2 separate regions of the Homo sapiens genome follow, and region 2 is linked to region 1. Evidence: promoter capture Hi-C in 16 types of primary human blood cells and fetal thymus (Javierre and others, 2016). All regions are on one chromosome and are shown on one strand. The core of a region is centred on a gene start or on the middle of the fragment in contact, and the rest is flanking DNA. Distances in the headings are between cores, read along the strand shown. Region 1 holds the start of H3C11 (H3 clustered histone 11). Region 2 holds the start of H2AC14 (H2A clustered histone 14).

What was found. Contacts are between HindIII fragments. The CHiCAGO score rates a contact against its expected background, and 5 or more counts as called.
Region 2: a contact is called between the fragment with the promoter of H2AC14 here and the fragment with the promoter of H3C11 in region 1, in 1 of 17 cell types (megakaryocytes). The highest score is 5.3, in megakaryocytes.

Annotation. Positions count from the first base shown.
Region 1 is chr6:27,867,701-27,873,892 of GRCh38, reverse strand. It overlaps H3C11 (H3 clustered histone 11), which reads left to right and starts at 1,547. Exons shown (of 1, transcript NM_003533.3): 1 at 1,547-2,048. The coding sequence starts at 1,578. The coding sequence ends at 1,988. H4C13 (H4 clustered histone 13) reads left to right here and starts at 359. Exons shown (of 1, transcript NM_003546.3): 1 at 359-745. The coding sequence starts at 383. The coding sequence ends at 694. RefSeq lists enhancers at 79-128, 209-378, 679-728, 160-797, 2,713-3,350 and 2 more. The HindIII fragment of the contact is 2,761 bases long and covers 1,290-4,050 here.
Region 2 is chr6:27,810,221-27,816,622 of GRCh38, reverse strand. H2AC14 (H2A clustered histone 14) reads left to right here and starts at 1,846. Exons shown (of 1, transcript NM_021066.3): 1 at 1,846-2,321. The coding sequence starts at 1,883. The coding sequence ends at 2,269. It overlaps H2BC14 (H2B clustered histone 14), which reads right to left and starts at 1,601. Exons shown (of 1, transcript NM_003521.3): 1 at 1,134-1,601. The coding sequence starts at 1,579. The coding sequence ends at 1,199. H3C10 (H3 clustered histone 10) reads right to left here. Exons shown (of 1, transcript NM_003536.3): 1 at 6,087-6,402. The coding sequence ends at 6,139. RefSeq lists enhancers at 943-992, 1,083-1,142, 1,253-1,372, 2,063-2,212, 5,563-6,234 and 2 more. The HindIII fragment of the contact is 4,109 bases long and covers 1-2,172 here.

The DNA.
Region 1 (6,192 bases), core at 298-2,797:
TGCCCGAAACGACTGTGATTACCCCTCTAGAGATGGCGCCATTTGATTCCAGCAGCCACAAAGCACTAGAACAATCGATGCTAAGAGGTGACAGGAAAAACAGGCTGCAAAGACCCAGACAATGGAATGCAGCGGTGGTCAGCCTAAAACACTGTAGAAGGGCAAGATGAGCTGAGTAATTTTTAACTGGGCATCATTTTTAGAAACTGGAGTTTAAGTACCCCCTTTTCCATTTTTTCCTGAAGTCGTGGGCAGGGCGCAAGGTCTGTGAATCGGCCGACCGGATGCAGCTGGTGTGGAGAGTTCCCAATCAGGTCCGATTTATTACTATATAAAGTACTGCTGCGAGGCTTGCCGTGTTGCATTTTGTTTAGTACAAGACATGTCTGGGCGCGGCAAAGGCGGGAAGGGTCTGGGCAAAGGAGGCGCTAAGCGCCACCGCAAAGTTCTGCGCGACAACATTCAGGGCATCACCAAGCCCGCCATCCGACGCCTGGCACGGCGTGGAGGCGTTAAGCGCATCTCAGGCCTTATATACGAGGAGACACGCGGAGTTCTTAAAGTGTTTTTGGAGAATGTAATCCGCGATGCAGTTACCTACACGGAGCACGCCAAACGCAAGACAGTCACAGCCATGGACGTGGTTTACGCGCTCAAGCGCCAGGGCCGCACCCTGTATGGCTTTGGCGGCTGAGTGTTTTACTTACTTACACGGTTCCTCAAAGGCCCTTCTCAGGGCCACCCATGAAGTCTGTGAAAGAGCTGTAGACTAAAGATAGTTAATTTCTTAAGAACACTTAAACGTATGGCAGTTTTGGCAAATTAGCGATTCCACATAAGCAGTCGCTGAAGTTTGAGGTTCGGTGCCCCTTTCAGCATTACTTAGTGGTTAAAAGTGCCGGCTTCTCTGATACACGGCCAAATCTATAACGCCTCTCTGGTTTTTGCAAAAGTCATAATGAAACAGCCGGTCTCATTTATCTTGTATCGATTACTTTACCGCTACCAATGCGAGGGCTGTGTAACTATGACACTGTGGTCCGCAACGCCCAAAATGTTTTAATATCGCCCTTTACAGAAAAAGTCGGCCAACTTCTAAAACATTAAGTACGTTTAAATTTGAGAAATACTGGCATACCACAACGCTCGAATTTCATATCCCCTTCAATGCCTCCATTTACAAATTTACTCTAGTTTCACTTTTCCTTTACGTTCTTTAACTTTTTGTCAAATCAGTAATGACACCTCGTAATTAAAATAGTGCAAGGCAAGTTTAGATTTATCAAGCTTATATTTAAACAGGATTTTGATGCATGAAAAATCCTAGACTTTTGGGGGATTTTTTTTTGTTTCCGTTTTTGTTTTTCTTTAGCTAGCAAAACCATTTTACGTTTCTTGACCCAAAACAGAGGCGGAATGTCTCCCTTTCACTAGCAGATTAAACTGGGAGCCAATTCCGTGTGTGAGACGTGGCATGGCACAGTCTACTGTCCAATCAGAACGCGAGGGCAGCTATAAATACCGGGATGATCAGTTTTTTTCTCTCATTTGTGTTGAGTAGGTACGTCTACTTAGCCATGGCACGAACAAAGCAAACAGCTCGCAAGTCCACCGGCGGCAAAGCGCCGCGCAAGCAGCTGGCCACCAAGGCGGCTCGCAAGAGCGCTCCGGCCACCGGTGGCGTCAAGAAGCCCCACCGCTACCGCCCCGGCACCGTGGCCCTGCGCGAGATCCGCCGCTACCAGAAGTCGACCGAGCTGCTAATCCGGAAGCTACCTTTTCAGCGCTTGGTACGGGAGATCGCACAGGACTTTAAGACCGATCTGCGCTTCCAGAGCTCGGCGGTGATGGCGCTGCAGGAGGCTTGCGAGGCCTACCTGGTGGGGCTATTTGAGGATACCAACCTGTGCGCCATTCACGCCAAACGCGTCACTATTATGCCTAAAGACATCCAGCTTGCGCGCCGCATCCGAGGGGAGAGGGCATAAATATTCCTATCAGCCCAAGAAGTCTGTCCAACCCCAAAAGGCTCTTTTCAGAGCCCCTCAATTGTCACCAAAAGGAAGCTGTAGCTTTTGAGACGTGTCTTAGCTCCATGTTAAATACAAGCTGTGGACAAAACGTGGTAGTGGCCCAACACACTATAATGCAGGAGTCAGGTCACAGGCTGTTGGTATGCTAAATCAATTTCACATACAGAACCTGTTCCTACTGATAAGGATTATCACTCAAAAAAGACATGTCATGGGGTCAATTTTACAGATGAAGTTTAGTTTTGAAAAGTATTCCTGTTTTTATCCTTGAGGAATGTGTCTCCTGCGTATCTACCTGCCCCTACTGAAGGGAACAAGTAGCACAATGAGTGTCCACAGGCTCTGGTGAGGCCGAGGCAGGCGGATCACAAGGTCAGGAGATCAAGACCATCCTGGCTAACACGGTGAAACCCCCCTGTCCACTAAAAAAAAGACTGCCGGCCGTGGTGGCACGCGCCTGTAGTCCCAGCTACTCGGGAGGCTGAGGCAGGAGGATCGCTTGAACCTGGCAGGCAGAGGTTGCAGTGAGCCGAGATCGCGCCACTGCCCTCCAGCCTGGGCTACAGAGCGAGACTCCGCCTCAAAAATACAAAAAACAACAGGCTCTAAAAACTACACACATGAGAGTGGAACAATAGACAATAAGGACTCAGAAGGGAGGAAAGAATGAATGATAAGTTACTTAATTGGTACAATGTAAGCTATTTAGCTCTTGTATAGCCCATGTAACTTGACCACCTTGGAGCATATGCACATAACAAAGTTGCCATCGTACCCCATGCAAGTAACAGTTTTGACAAAAAGCTCGACACTTTTGTTCTGTTTCAATGTAATGTTTAGCAAGCCATGTGTTAGGTAGTGGGCCTCTGAGGAGGGATACTTTAACCTACTGCATGCTGTCATCTATGAAATGAACTTCTAGCTCTAAGTGGACCTTAAAAAATATTTTCCTGTCATTTCACCATATGCTTGTCATAGACTGTGGAGTTGGATTTTCATGAGATTTTTTCTTTCTTTTTTTTTTTCAGAGAGAATCAGTCTGGGTATTAAACTTCAAGTGGTATTTTAAAGCTCTTCCTGGTTTCTAACCAAACTTTTCCATTATTTCCAGCTGTTTTAGAGTTTCCTCATGTGCTCTACATATGTGACTATCATGACCTCATTTTGCTCTTAAACTTTTTGAAGCACACATCTTGACCTAGGAGATATCTGGCAGAGATGTGAAGGCAATTTTTCTCCCTAGTGCTCTCAGCCAGCTCAGCCTCATATCTGTGCCTTCCTTTCTCATATTGGATTCACTCTTGCAAAGAGGCATGTATCCCAGCAACTGGTGCAGCGGTGTCCGATCTTTTGTCTTCCCTGGGCCACGTTGGAAGAAGAATTGTCTTGGGCCACACCTAAAATACAGGATCACTAAAGATAGCTGACGAAAGAAAACAAAGGAAGGAAGGAAGGAAGGGAGGAAGGAAGGAAAAAGGAAGGGCGCAGTGGCTCACATCTGTAATCCCAGCACTTTGCATTTTGGGAGGCCGATGCGGGCGAATCACGAGGTCAGGAGTTCCAGACCAGCCTGGCCAACATGGTGAAGCCACGTCTCTACTAAAAATACAAAAAATTAGCTGGGCATAGTGGCAGGCGCCTGTAGTCCCAGCTCCTTGGGAGGCTGAGGTTGCAGTGAGCCGAGATCACGCTACTGCACTCCAGTCCTGGTGACAGAGTGAGACTCTGTCTCAAAAAAAAAAAAAAAAAAAAAAAAGGAAGGAAGGGAAAGAAAGAAAAGTCTGTGCATAATTTTTGTGATATCCACCATCACAGATGAACAAAAAAGTCCTCACATTCAAAGGGTTGGATACAGGTATAAAGTTTTTGGAAACTTAAGATTTGATTCAGAAAAACAAACAACAAAAAAACACTTTTGATCCATGGGGCCAGAAGCCTCTTCCCACAATTAACTTAGAGCTCTTTTAGTGGCTGTTTGCTAGGTGTAGGAACAACTTGACACTGCCTCTTCCAAGCTTTGAAGATAGTTCTCTTCTCACCTCTTCAAGGATTTTCCCTCCATAATAGAGCTGAGGCCATGTTTCTAGGTTTAAAATTTAGAGCTGCCACTTCATAGCTGTATAACCTTTGACAAGTTATTAATTCTCTATCTGGGCCTCATCTTGTATAGCTGTAAATGTAGCAAATTAATAGAAACCTGTAGAACATATTTAAGATTACTTCCTGTCAGGTAGTAAATGCTGAATGAGTGTCAGCTCTTATTGTTATACCCTGGCTCCATTACACATGGAGTTTTGGGGTTTTTTTCTCCTGGACCTTCTAAGTTTTGTGTTTGGAACAGTGGAAAGTGCTTGGTTAGATCATTTGCTCATGAAGATCTCCTTTTCTTTAGTTCTCAATTTGCATTGTTCGGTAAGAGGCCTATACAATATCTGTGTCTCTGTGGAGAAATTTATAACACAGCAAAAGGGCTAGGTAATAAATAGCTTAGGGTTTAAAGGCCATATATAGTCTCTGTCACACACTCTTTAGTTTTTAGTTAGTTTGCTTTTTCGAGACAGGATCTTGCTCCATTGCCCTGGCTGGAGTGCAGTGCTGCTATCATTGCTCACTGCAGCCTTGACACCCTGAATTCAAGTGATCCTCCCACCTCAGCCTCCCGAGTAGCTGAGACTACAGGCATGTGCCACCACATCCAGCAAAATGTTTTGTATTTTTATTAAAGATGGGGTTTTACCAAGTTGCCCAAGCTGGTCTCCAACTCCTGAGCTCAAGCAACCCACCTATCCCAGTGTCCCCAAGTGCTGAGATTACAGACATGAACCACCGTGCCCAGCCTTTGTTTTTGTTTTTTTTTTTTTTAACAATACTTTTAAAACATAAAGACACTTCTTAGCTTGAGGGCCATACAGAAAAAAGCCATTGTCCAGATTTGGCCATAGTCTGCCAACTTCTCCAGGAGTTCTTAGAAGATGAAGTGCATTGGCTACTTTAAATTTTCTTGCACAGCATTTCAAGAATGAGAAATAAGTGACTGTTGATTTCATTAGGAATCCAAATCATCATTTGATCATTTTTATCATCCAGGCATCCTGTCCAATCCCCTCCACCTCCCATAAATTGTAAACTTCATTTATTTCAACCTCAGTGTATTTGCCTATGTTTTCCTGAGTTCCTCTGAACCTCTATAATGTGAAGTCGCTCAATATCCAATCCAACCTTTTCACAGTCAATAGCCAGATATTCTTCTAAAATATTAGCGCTAAAACACACAAAAATACCCATATTGATGTATCCTGGCTGCTCATAGAAGAGAGTATTCCTGATGGTGCAGCTTGTTAAATGTGGGTGGAGATTCAGGGGGAGCAGTGAGAACATTTCGAAAACCTGACAGTGTCCTGGGCCACCTAAACAGTTTGTGCATTTGAGGATCACTGGGAGCTCTTGAATAATTTTCCACAAGTTTGAGTTTTCTCTAAACTGAATTATCTATATTATTTTTCTTCCCCTTTTTTAATGGATTTGCCCAGGAACTAAAAAGAGAAAACACTCTAATTAGAAAACATAACACATTTAAGTTTGAATGTGAATCTGAGTAGTTAGATCCTTAAGTCAAAGCGATTTGTATTACTGGTGCTGCAATGCAGAAGAAGTCACTCTGACTGTGGAACTCTTCCAAGCTGCAAAATCCCATTCTGTAAAGACATTAGCACATGGAAACTCCTAGGACACAGAACCAGTTTGTAAAGTCAAGTCTATGTGGTTAAGTTGGGGCTGTAGGCAACCAGCTGTCCTGTGCCTGTGTTACTTGCTACAGTTAGAAACAAACTTCATGCCCAAACCAAGGAACCCAGTGTCTTTTCTCTTGCAAAAATCAAAGCATGAACTCATGGGCAAATTTTTAAAAATAACTTTCACTGGATACTTAGTAGAAATTTATCGCGACACGCTACTAACTAACATGATGCCCTCAGCCCAATGGATTCTTATGAAAAGCTGAAGGGATTTTTTAAAATATCTTTCATCAATTGCACAAGATTCTTGAAAACACAAACAAGTATGTGAACCTGGAGGCTGTTTTCCTCCTTTGGAGCTTCAAAGTGCCAAATTCTGTACCATTGTTTTAAGCATTTAATCAAATTTTGAGGACTAACAAACA
Region 2 (6,402 bases), core at 597-3,096, 58 kb after region 1:
ATGTTAGAAAGTATTTTTCAGGTTGGGTTTCTTTAAAGAAGTGTGAGGATTCAAAGGCTCTGGAAAAGCAATCTCAGTGCAGATGCCTTTTGAATCCTTCCAGGTATCTGAGTTTTCTCACAATTTTAAAAATTGATTTAAACATAACTAGAATATTTCTGGCAATTTAACTGTAACACATCTACAGAACACTCACTAGGTATTCACAGTGATATTAAGAGCAATTATTTTTTCCAGTTCATTTTCTTTGATTTACCTGATTTTTTTTGAGACAGAGTCTTGCTCTGTTGCCCAGGTTAGTGCAGTGGCGCGATCACGACTCGGTTCACTGCAACCTCTGCCTCCCGGGTTCAAGCGATTCTCCTGCCTCAGCCTCCCGAGAAGCTGGTGTTACAGGCACGTGCCACTGCACCCGTTTAATTTTTTGTATTTTTAGTACAGACGGGGTTTCACCACGTTGGCCAGGCTAGTCTCAAACTCCTGATCTCAAGTGATCCGCCCGCCTCTGACTCCCAGAGTGCTGGGATTACAGGCGTGAGCCACCACGCCTGGACTAACCCTCCACATATTTATTTATGACTTTACCTATAACTTCTGCTTCCCTAAAATGTACAAAACAGTTGCATTCTGACTGCCTCAGAACCACTTTCTCATGGTCTCGGGGGATTGTGTCTTCCCTAAGCCACGGTCACTCATAGTTGCTAATAATCCTCTTTAAAATATTTTGGGCCGGGCGCAGTGGCTCACACCTGTGATCCCAACACTGGGAGGCCGAGGCAAGTGGACCACCTAAGGTCAGGAGTTCGATACCAGTCTGGCCAACGTGGTGAAACCCCGTATCTACTAAAAATACAAAAAGTAGCAGGGCCTGGTGCCACATGCCTGTGGTCCCACCTACTCGAGAGGCTGAGGCAGAAGAATCGCTTGAACCCGGAAGGTGGAGATTGCAGTGAACCGAGATCGTGCCATTGCACTCCAGGGTGGGCAACAAAGTGAGACTACACCTCAAAAACAACAACAAAAAACAAAAAAAAACCCACATATACAAGTACATTTATATGTACGAAGCGAGTCCCAAAGGGTACCTAATGGGAGACAAACTTAACAGTGAACTGGCTCTTTCTTGAGAAACGTGGACGGCTCTGAAAAGAGCCTTTGGGGTGTGGGTCACGGCGGAACTGTTACTGCAGCGAGAGGCTCACTTGGAGCTGGTATACTTGGTGACGGCCTTGGTGCCCTCGGACACGGCGTGCTTGGCCAATTCCCCGGGTAGCAGTAGGCGCACGGCCGTCTGGATCTCCCTCGAAGTGATGGTCGAGCGCTTGTTGTAATGCGCCAGGCGTGACGCTTCTCCGGCGATACGCTCAAAGATGTCGTTGACGAAGGAGTTCATGATTCCCATAGCCTTGGAAGAGATGCCGGTGTCGGGGTGGACCTGCTTCAGCACCTTGTACACATACACAGAGTAGCTCTCCTTGCGGCTGCGTTTGCGCTTCTTTCCATCCTTCTTCTGAGCCTTGTTAATGGCCTTCTTGGAGCCTTTTTTAGGGACTGGAGCAGATTTGACTGGTTCAGGCATGGTGGAAAACAAAATAAAAGACAACCTTAGGGCTGTTTCGTCCTCTTTATTTAAATGTTATTATGCAAATTAGGAGTAGAATAGGTCAGTGCTGATTGGTGATTATCCGTGGATGACGTCAGATGCCAGTTTTGCCCAATCAAAATAGGTATCCTGCATACTCGAGTCCTATTGGTCTAAATAAAAATAAAACGTAAGCCAATCGCACAGCTTCCTTTTCGCGCCCAGTAGAGGCTATAAAATGTACGTTTTTCCAATTTCATTTCAGTCTTTCTTGACCGTAAAGGTAATAGACCTTTTGCCATGTCTGGGCGTGGTAAGCAGGGAGGCAAAGCTCGCGCCAAGGCCAAGACCCGCTCTTCTCGGGCCGGGCTTCAGTTTCCCGTAGGCCGAGTGCATCGCCTGCTCCGCAAAGGCAACTATGCGGAGCGGGTCGGTGCTGGAGCGCCGGTGTACCTGGCGGCGGTGCTGGAGTACCTGACCGCCGAGATCCTGGAGCTGGCTGGCAACGCGGCCCGCGACAACAAGAAGACTCGCATCATCCCGCGTCACCTCCAGCTGGCCATCCGCAACGATGAGGAGCTCAACAAGCTTCTGGGCAAAGTCACCATCGCACAGGGTGGCGTCCTGCCCAACATCCAGGCCGTGCTGCTGCCAAAGAAAACTGAGAGCCACCACAAGACTAAGTAAAGACCGAGTTGAAAAGCGCATAAAAACAAAGGCTCTTTTCAGAGCCACTTCAACAATCATAAAAAGATGACACGAGTCCGTTTTCAGCTGCTTCACCACTACACAGTACACTCATGATGTTTCGGTGTTAATCTTTAACCTGTTTACATTGCCTGAATTTCAAGGTTTTTTTTTTTTTTTTTTTTCTTAATGTAGATACTAACAAGGTACGTTTGCTAACACGTGTTTTCAGGGGTTTTACCTTGGTGGCCAGGCTGGTCTCTGACTCGACCTCAGGTAATCCACCCGCCTAGGCCTCCCAAAGTGCTGGGATTACAGGCGTGAGCCACTGCGCCAGGCCAGTTTGTGGTATCTTGAAGGCATTTTACTGGGACACAACTTTGACAAAAGTCAAAGCCTCTTACTGGGAGTTACATAGTAGGTACTGGTGGGTTTTATTTATGATTCTGGGAAACTCACTGGGCTGTAAGGAATATAGTATAGTATTCGGTTTTTAATATGCTTACTAGAAAAAGTATATGGATTGCTACTAGACAGTGTGTTTCTCTACAGTTTCACAGTCTCTAGATTGAAAACTGAGGGTAGAGTCCTCAGCCCTATTTCCTGGCCTCTAGGAAAGGAGCTGCTCAATGGGTATATTTAAACAAAACCAGACAGTTTTATGTTTACCAATGTATACATTGGTCATGTTTTGTTTTCTATTTTTAATTTTTGCACTTACAAGAGTTTGGAATAAAAAAAAATTGGCCTTAGAAGTTTTCTAATTAAGGGTCTTTCAAACATATACATGTTCGGCAGTGACCCAATAATTACATGTATTTATGTTAGTGTACTGCTGAAATCACATGTTAATAATAGTTAACTTCATTGTATGTGTTCTGATATTTTTCTGTTTAATTCTGTATGTAATTAACCTTTTTGTACCTGGGTGTTATGTTACAAATGTATCCTGTAAACACTTACAATTAGTAAGTGAGTTAAATACTTAGTAACTGCTGGATAAGTAGATGGCCAAGCATAGTAGTCCAAGCTGGTGATGTTCGATGGTAAGGTTGGTTCTGAATACTTATTGATTCCAAGAGCACTAGTGGGTGAATACCTACACTCAGAAAAAAATATCTCTTCTGAGAAAAGCCAAAGGCTATTTTGAGAATAGTGAGGTCAGTTCCTCATGTTATCTTTTTTTTTTTTTTTTTTTTTTTTTGAGACAGGGTCTCGCTTTGTCACCCAGGCTGGAGGACAGTGGTACGATCTCGGCTCATTGCAACCTCCAACTTCTGGACACAAGCGATTCTCCCAACGCAGCCTCCTGAGTATCTGGGACCACAGGCACACGCCACCACGTTTGGCTAATTTTATTTTTTGGAGAGATGGGGTTTCGCCACATTGCCCAGGCTGGTTTCCAACTCCTGGACTCAAGCGATCCACCTGCCTCGGCCTCCCAAAGTGCTTGGATTACAGGCATGAGCCACCGCGCCCGGCCTGTTGTCCATATTTCTGTATGGGCATATCAAGGTCCTTTTATTTTGGGCCTTGAAAAGGATTGTTATGCCACTTATGAGTTTTGCCATCTCAGGAAATTCAGACACAAGAATTATGTCCTTTTTTTTAAATTTATTTATTTTTTGTTTGTTTTGTGTTTTTGAGATGGAATCTCCCTCTGTTGCCCAGGCTGAACTGCAGTGGCGTGATCTCGGCTCACAGCAACCTCCACCTCCCGAGTTCAAGCGATTCTCCTGCCTCAGCCACCAGAGTAGCTGGGACTACAGGCACATGCCACCACACCTGGCTAAATTTTTTGTATTTTTAGTAAAGACGGGGTTTTACCATGTTGGTCAGGCTGGTCATGAACTCCTGACAAATGAGCTGAGTTGGATGGTTACCAGACTATTGTAATTCAGTACATGGAGTGTTTTGAAAAGACATAGAGTATTCATTTCCACATAACTAGAACTACTCACTGTCCCTTAAATAAATAATTCCTCATGTAATTATAACTGGAAATTTAACTGGGAGTATCTTGGCTGCATATCTCCAGGAGAGGATGCCCTACCCAGCCAGCAAGAGTATTGATTAGTACATACCAGGCAGTCTCTGTGTGAGCCCTTCCTGATTTATTACTAGCTCTTAGTTTCCCAGCACAGAAAGAAGGAATGCACTATTTACACACTCAACAATATCCATCGGTTTAGCAGTTGGGCCCCTAAGTGTCCTAGAGGCACTGCTTCCCTCCAAAATAGTGTATCTTCCTTTCCAGAAGAAAGCTAATTTCTGAGAGGGGAAAAACTCTATTTTGTTTTGCTTACGGTGTTGATTCCAATTAAAAGTATTAAAGCATTATTTTAATTTGTAAAATATTAATCATAAATTATTTATCTTTCTAAATTCCATATATGTGGAAATAATGAAATCATGAACCCACACACAAGAAAATGAGGATGAGCAGATTGTGAATGTTGCAGTAGTGATCTTGATATCAAATTTCCAAAAAAGTGTATTAAGAATGTAACCAATTCTAATAACTGAAGATACATAAATAGCCAACTGAAACAAGATAGAGAATTAAAACTGCTTTTTAAAACTCAGTGTAAAAATACTATGATCTTTCCACTTACATCCTTCACAGGTTAAGCTAAGGAGAGACAGAGATGATAACACACATACACAAGCCAATTTGCCAGGGAAAATCTTGAATACTTATAAGAATGCTAGAGAGCTCACAGAAGAAGTTATAGAAATCTAGCATTCTGAATACAAGAATGGATGAGGTAAGGGCTTTCCTGGCCCACAAGAAGCTGATTTGAGCATATCTACCAAGCTGATGTATTTCTTTCATTTGAGATTTTCCATGTGGGTATGTCTCCTTACTATTATATACCCATGCATTCATTCATTTATCCAACAAATACTGATCAAAAGCTCCTACGTTACTGGAGATATGCGAGTAAACAAAAGTTCCTCCTCTCATGAGCCTGTATTTTAGAACACACAAGCAATACATCAGCAAACTCTGGTACAGCATATAGTGACAAATTCTAGGGTGAAAAAAATAGGTGGGGATTATACAGATTTTATTTAGTCATACAAAGCCTCATTGAGAAAGTAACATTTAAGCAAAGACTCAAGTATTTTATCCTGTGCTCAAAAAAACTACCACAGGCTTACCTACAAGGCAGTCTTATTTTGAATACTCCTGACAGTTCAGAGTTTTAGCCACTGTCAGCAGAAGTCAGAGAAAACACTTTCTCTCCCACACGTATTTTTACATGGGGCTTCAAAGGGAATGTTCTCTGGCGGGCTTTCTCCAGAAGACTTTTAAACCTCAAACCATCTGTCATTAACTACATTTAAGTGGTTTAAGCAGGCCCAAAATCCGGCTTGAAAAAATTCAAAGAAAACTTAACACTGCTTAGGAACGGGGGGCGGGGAGAGAACGTTTCACTTTAGCCAGCATGAGCTACATTAACCTGAATTTTTCCAACTTCAGTACAACCTTAGTTTTATTTCTGGCGTGTTGGCAAGAAATATACACACACCACAGTACAGGTTAGCAGAAAATTAGAAGCACCATCCGGTCAAAACCGGGCTGCGGAGATGGGAGAGCAATACACGAAGGAACTTTTGGCTACACTCAATGCTTACGGAAAAATGCCGGACATTATTAGATGTTAAGACTCCCAAAATTAGCATTCAAAAAGGGATAGGCTGAGTCTTACGAAACAGATTGTATAACGTCTGGAAATGGGCCCTATCTACTACAGGCAAAACAAGTACCAGGAAGAATTCCTGAGAGAAACAGATCTTTTCAGCGCGCATGTGGGTGGCTCTGAAAAGAGCCTTTGGGTATGTAATCAGTGAGTCCTTGAGACTCAAGCCCTCTCGCCGCGGATACGACGTGCGAGCTGGATGTCCTTGGGCATGATAGTCACCCGCTTGGCGTGGATGGCGCACAGGTTGGTGTCCTCAAAGAGCCCCACCAGGTAGGCCTCGCATGCCTCTTGCAGCGCCATCACCGCGGAGCTCTGGAAGCGCAAGTCGGTCTTGAAGTCCTGCGCGATCTCACGCACCAGACGCTGAAAAGGCAGCTTTCTGATCAGCAGCTCGGTGGACTTCTGGTAGCGGCGAATCTCGCG